Linked DNA regions of Homo sapiens: region 1 is linked to region 2. Evidence: promoter capture Hi-C in 16 types of primary human blood cells and fetal thymus (Javierre and others, 2016). All regions are on one chromosome and are shown on one strand. The core of a region is centred on a gene start or on the middle of the fragment in contact, and the rest is flanking DNA. Distances in the headings are between cores, read along the strand shown. Region 1 overlaps NBDY (negative regulator of P-body association). Region 2 holds the start of GNL3L (G protein nucleolar 3 like).

Region 1 (3,236 bases), core at 716-3,215, 2.3 Mb before region 2:
AAAACGTAAAGACAGTGAAGAAGAAAAAAGTGAAGGGAGGAAAACTCCAAATGTACACGGAGAAACAGAGTGAGCAATGAGGTTGAGAGCAAACTGGAATGCAGAGTGCCTCAGGTGGACAGCTGGCAGCCTTGTGAGTGGCCTTCCGTGGCTTCACAGAAGAAGAGCCACCAGCCAAGAGAAAGCGTCAGCCCCTTAAGACTGGGTTTGCACCACATCTGCACAGAGGCCTGTTGGGCCAGGAGGCTGCCATGCTCCCCACTGCGCCCACCCCAACCCCATCCGCACGATCTGCCAGCAAATATTGGGAAGTGAGGCAGAAAGCGACAAGAAAGGTGAACAAGAGGGAACCTGAAAGCTGAGAAACTGCCCCTTAAGAGTTGCCTAGACAACCAGATCTGGGAGTGAATGGTGTCTGGGCAGGTGCTTGTTAGTATGCATGGTGAGATGTGTATGTATCTGAGGACCTTTGGAAGCACAGATGAAGACAGGAAAATGTTGAGACGTAATGGGAGTTAAAAGTTAAAAACGAGGACCTCTGAAACTCAGAGTTGCCATGTCACTCCTAAAGACGCAGTCAGATCTTCCTGCATTCTTTTCTTCTCCCATTGTACCTAGGCAGGGCCGGAGGTGCCCCGTGGTGCATGCTACCTACTTATGAGAAAAGAATCTGCATTTGTTGACAAGTGACCAAAAGGGGGTGACTCCTGTTCCATAGTCATGTGGGTCTTCTTCCCAGAATGCCCTGAGAGTAGAGGCCCACACACGAGATTGACACTGCTCTTGTGATGTGAGAGTGGTTCACACACCCCTGAGTGTGGGAATCAATACCCATGGGGTGAATTTTCTGTCCTATGAAGCTCTGCTTGTTCACAGTGTGGTCTACACATCCAGGAAGATTTGTAACAAGCAAAGAAAGAAAACATTTGCAATATTCGAAGAGCTGTGTGTTCCATACTGCTGCCCAGGCATCAAGCAGCATGGGTAGCATATGTAACCTTTAGAGCAACGCGGTCATGGCTTCGCATCCCAAAATGGGCTCTGTATGATGGCCCAAGTGAGGCTTTCTTATGTCTTCCTGGAGACCCTAAAGGGGCAGCATAATTTGTCCTCGACTGTCTCATTCATTTTTCTGGATGAATATCCGGCAAGCACCAGAGTTTAGCTTGAGGACCTCAGAGAGCTCTGTATCAAACAAAGGCACAGACACTCCACCACACCCCCCACCAACACACTCCAGGCTCAACCTCCATTTCGACACGCAGAACAGGAACAAAGATAGGGCCCAGGAGAAGGCAAGCACTGTCTGGGCTCTGGCTACCCATGCACATGGGAAGAATGACCAAGATGCCAAGGCAAATAACTGGTGAACCACCACGTTCCAGTGAGCATGCACGCTCAGTAAGACATGACAAGTGGCTCTCTCTCCAGGAGAGCCACCTGTGAAAAAACCTGGAAAATCCCTCCAACCCCTGGACCCCTATGAGTGCCTGGGCTCCAGAGAGAGAGGTAGCTGAAGGCCTCGAACAGGAGTCAGTCCCATGCAGTCCCATCTCAACAAACATCCGACCCAACTCCCTGCTGCTCCATGGCTCAACAATGTGTGGATGCCTGTTGGACCTGGCTGCTTTCCATCCAAGATTTTGTCCCTTCCCCAAGAGGAAGAGTGCTACCTAGGGACAAGTGTGGTGCATGCCATCATGAGGCCTGGTCTCTTGCTTTGGGGACCTGGGCCAATTCCTAGAGGAATCTGCAGTGGCCTGCATGCAGGCCCACACACTCACACATCCCTCTCCTGTACCCCATCATACTGCCCCCAGTACAACCTACCCCCACCATGACACAGCCCTAAGGGTGGGATTTCATGAGAACAGACTCCTCTGGTTCACTGGGTACCCTGCCCAGAGAAGAATCCAGAGGGAAGGAGGGAGGCAAAGAACCTCCTACTGTTGCAGGTTCCCCCAAAGTGACCACGTAGGTGGGGATCCCTGCTGTAGGTGAGGTGGGTGATCCTTGGCCAGTTTCTTCGTTGTTTCTTTGCTTTTTGTTTTTGGCATTTGTTTTATTCCGTTGGCAGCAAATGGAGAAAGACAAGGCAAGGTGGGGGAAGGAAAAGACGTGACTGCCATTTGCGGAGCCACAGTGCCACCCAGAGGAAGATGTTTCTGAACATGACAACAGGCTGCAGGGACACTCGCCTTCTGCCAGGCACAGAGATCAGTGAAAATGTGCGGGGCTGGGTGGACTCTGCTTAAGCCAGGGTTTCCCCAACTGGGGTTTAGAGCCCTAGAACAAAGAGTGCCTGCCACTGGGACCCCTTGGAGAAGCAGTTACTCTAGAGGCCCTGACACAGGGCAGCCAGGCAGCCCCAAGACGAGTCAGTCCACACAGTGAAGCTGCCCCCCAGCCATTTTGAGATACGCATAAGGGAAGCCACTGGCCACTGACAGCCAGAGAATGAAGTGGTTTACTCTGGTTTCTTCTGTGGGCAGTTACAGCTTGCCCTCCTTGGCTGGGGCCACAGTAAGGCCAGAAGGCCCCTATCTTCCTGGTAAAAAAAAAAAAAAAGGAGCTACGGGGTGCTGAGTGTGGGGCGACTCATGCCCGGCAGTTCCTGGAAACTGCCAGGGGAAGCCATGGTGGGCTGCCCCAACTGCCCTTTCTTACATGCAGCTGTGGAGCCAGGGCACCATCCTGGGAATGAGCCCAGGCCAAGGGCCAGTGAGGAGCTCCTCTCTCATCCTGCTTCAGTCTGGGGGCCCCATGCCACCATCTGTTTTGTGCCCCTGGGCTTTCCCCAGCACTTGTGCCCAGCTCCCTCCCATTTCCAGAAACAGTTTCCACTTGATGGCAGTATGGCTCCACAAATGCCAACTACAACCATAACCTTGCTTCTCTAAGCTGATGGTCTCTGCCTTCTCCCATGTGAATAAAGAGGAAGGAGAAAAAAATAAAAAAGATAAGGAGAAGAGAAAGGAACAAGCCACCTGGTCCCAGGCTGACAACCAAACTCAGGGGACTCTAGCACCAAGGACCAGTAGCCTGGAGACCCTGCGGGAATGCTATGGAGGCAGCCAGCCTTTGCCCTTCCTTTGGTCCTCTCTAGGTTTCATGGCTCCCGCAGGTGCAGAAAGTAAAAGACAAAGAACACATTATCATGGCCTCTGGGAAACCACAGGAGGACTGGGATCATAGGGCTGCAGCTCCAGGACGAGGCGCTGGCCACTCGGCTGTCT
Region 2 (3,341 bases), core at 502-3,001:
ATATGGATTGAGATAAGTACAAAATCTTGGAGGAGGGGGTAAAAATCTGTGCCTGCATATGCCTGGGGTCTATACCTTGGTGATTTGGGTTGGGGGGATTGCCATCTGTCCCTCTACTCTGGGGTGCAGAGAAACTGGGGAAACCCACAAAGTGGCTGTGTGCATCTCTGCTGCATGGGGAAAGAATCACAGATCTGTTTATCTCTAGATTGTGGGGATGGGTCCTGCGTCTCTTCACCCTGGAGAGGGCTGTGGTACAGGATCGATATGCCTGATTCCACAACTATGCAGCTTTGAATAAGCGGGTCTGCACCTTACCTGCAGTGAGCTATTCTGGACCCTTCTATGGAAGGTGGACTGTGACAACTTTCATCTTTTATGCTGGTTGAAGTCAGCGGCACACTAACACTGAAAGAAATAGGGGCTCTGGTTCTCTGCATGGGTGGTGTGTGGAGGGGGCTGGCAATGCAGCTATAAATTAATAGATCAGCCCTAATACTTGGGGGTGGGGGCGTCTGTGATTCTACCCTGGGTGGAGAGAAACAGATCTGAGCTCCACTACCTTGGGTAAAGGGGAGAGACCATACGCACTGAACTGCCAGGTAATCAGCGATGTCACTCCCTCTCAACATTACAGGGAGGGAGACCTGCATATCTGCTCCTGTGGGGTATCTCCCTTGCTACATTTAGTGATTCTAAATCTTTGGGGGAGGTAGGGGGAGGTAGGGGGATGATCTGTGTCTACCTCAAAGGGAGAGGAACACATCTGAGCCCCTCTACCCCCACGGCCCCTCAAGGGGCAGACCTGACTGTCTCTTCATGGATTAAGGTCTGTTCCTGTTTGCTTCGAAGCATGTTGGGTGCTTCGAAAAATTACACATTCGGTAAAACGGGGGCTACGGAAGTAGGGATCAGGTCTGATTCTCCACAATGGGGACTCACTCTAACCTAAGAGGAGGGGGCAATTGGCTTAGTTGTCCATAAGCTGAGGCCTGTAACTGCAACCACTTTGGGGACGGGTGAGTTGGGGAGCGATACTGAGGGCTCTGAGTCTACGCGTATGGGGAGGAGGTGCCCTCCCTCTGTATATTAAATGTTTCTAAGCTCCTCTATGCTGGTATGGGGGCAGATACATCAAAGCCTCTGTCTGTCCTGAGGAGGTGCCTCGAGACGGCTGTCTAGAGCCAAGCCAAGGAAGTGCCTTAAGTCGGGAGAAGTCTGCGCTGCTCAGCTGGGTGGAGGGAGATGTCTCTACACGGTTGGGGTGGATGTCCCCCATGCCTTTGGTGGGTCGACTCCTGTCTATACAAGGTGAATGCAGAATGAAGCCTCACTATCTTGAGGACGATCAACGCTTCACCACACAAGTGAAGTTTGTGCCTCTCTACACAGTGTGTCCCGGGTCTACACCTTTCTAGGTGGGATGGGGCAATGCCCCTCTCCCGGCAAACTCCACTCCGCGAAAAGGCAATTCGGCGCGTCTCCACGTGTGCCGCGATCCCTGCCCCTCTTCCGGTCCCTTCTACCCTGGAAGGGATCCTGCTGTTTACCTCTCTATTCCAGGTTGGCGGGCATCTCTGGTTTCACATCCAATAGACGATCCTAACTGCCCGGCCGTCTAGGTGAGCGCACATTGTGAGAAAAGAGGAGAGAAGTTTCTTACTTACACTTCCGGCGGGGATCTGAGAAGCGAGGGCAACACGACAACTCGGTTGAGCGAGCAGAAACTCTCGCGCAGCTAGGCTCCGACTTCCGGATCCCAGGCCGGCGGCGCCCGACTCCGCCCACCGTGCGGTCTCCGCGGGGGGGGGGGGGGGGGGGCGGAGCTTCTGACTGACAGCTCACGCCCGCCCGTCCCTTCTTCGCGACCACGCTGGCCCCGCCTCCTGCCTGCCCCGTAGTTAAGGAAATAGCGGAGGAGGGAGAAGGAGGACGGGGAAATGACCGGGAAGAAGCGGCGGGTCGACTGGTGCGGCCATATACCTTACTTGCAAGCCAAAATTTTGTCTGCGGGCATCTGTCTGGGGTTAAATATGCGTGCTCCCAAATCTCAATAACCAGGCAGTCACCACGCCCGAATCAGACAAGGGTGGGGGATGGTGTCTTTGTCTGCCTGGAAGATGGCGACAGCAGGGTGTGAGAAAATGGCCGCCTGGGTCACGTGTCTGGCCGAGTATTTCCCCACCTGAAGTGAATTGGTTAGCTATTCCCAACCACCTTCCCGGGTCCTTGAGCCCCAGACCATCCCTGAGCACTCCTAGCTTTTTCTGCATACGTTCAGATCTATGGCCATACCCAACCCGAGCTGGAGCAGGAGCCAGAACGACTAGAAGCCTCTCCCACACTAGAAGCCTCTCCCACCCTTTTGCCTTCTTCCCCTCCTACTCCATCCTTCCCTCAATCCCGGAGCAGCGTCTGCAGAAGGGAATGAATTTATATCTCTGGAGTGGGGCAAGTAGGGGTTTCTGAAGCCATCTCAAGGAGCTGGCTGGGAAGTGAGGTCTCCCCCACAAAATAGTAAATATTAGTCTGCAAATGTTTTCTTCTTGATGGTTTAATTCCAGCCCCTCCTCTTCCTCAAGCCTAAACCCTGGGGTGGGGCACAGAGTAGGTGGAACTCTGTGCCTCCGAGGGTGGGTTTGTTTCTCCACTTCAAGCACAGACGGGCTGAAAATGACTCCATCTGTCCCTTTATCCCTTACATAAACAGGACTCACTACCTCTCTACATCGTTGGAGGGCTTCTAACCTCTCATCCTAGAGACACATGAAATTCCTCTGGACCTGAAACCAGCCCTGACCACTTTCACCTTTCCCCCTGCATTTGCAATTTTGCTCTGTTTCTCTAAGACCTAACTCTTGTCACTTCGATGAAACCTTCTCTGACTTTCGCAGATGAGTTAGAAACCCAGAGCACCTTACCTATACAGCTAAGCTAGCACTTATCACAATACTGTAGTTGTTTATGTGACTGTGTCTCCACAGGAGGGTGAACTCCCTGAGAGCAGGGGCCATGTATCTTCAAGCTTTCAACAACACCCAGCACAAGACTGGTATGAGGCAGGCTTCAACAACTGTTTGTTAAATGGGTGAGTTTACAGGCCTGCACCACAAAAAATGGGAAATGGGCTGTTTAGTAGATGGCATTGGGAAATTTGGCTCTCCATGAAAAGAAATATAAAACTGGATCTCTATTTATTCCACCTAAGAGGGTAGACTGTGAATGTGAAAGGTAAAACTATGAAGTTAATATATGCAGGAGAATATCTTTGTGACTTGTGACTGGGGAAGGACTTTTTAAACAAAATCCCAAATGCACAAGATATAAGGGAAAAAATACAA

What was found. Contacts are between HindIII fragments. The CHiCAGO score rates a contact against its expected background, and 5 or more counts as called.
Region 1: a fragment that was not itself captured here is called in contact with the fragment with the promoter of GNL3L in region 2 in 1 of 17 cell types (monocytes); the score reaches 5.2 in monocytes.

What each region holds. Positions count from the first base shown.
Region 1 is chrX:56,787,948-56,791,183 of GRCh38, reverse strand. The region is part of intron 2 of NBDY (negative regulator of P-body association); the gene reads right to left. Among named protein-coding and RNA genes, the nearest start is that of NBDY, 60 kb to the right of the region's middle. The HindIII fragment of the contact is 4,764 bases long and covers 1-3,236 here.
Region 2 is chrX:54,528,629-54,531,969 of GRCh38, reverse strand. GNL3L (G protein nucleolar 3 like) reads right to left here and starts at 1,751. Exons shown (of 16, transcript NM_001184819.2): 1 at 1,551-1,751. RefSeq lists enhancers at 1,346-1,605, 1,616-1,675, 2,126-2,175, 1,830-2,350. The HindIII fragment of the contact is 4,164 bases long and covers 1-3,027 here.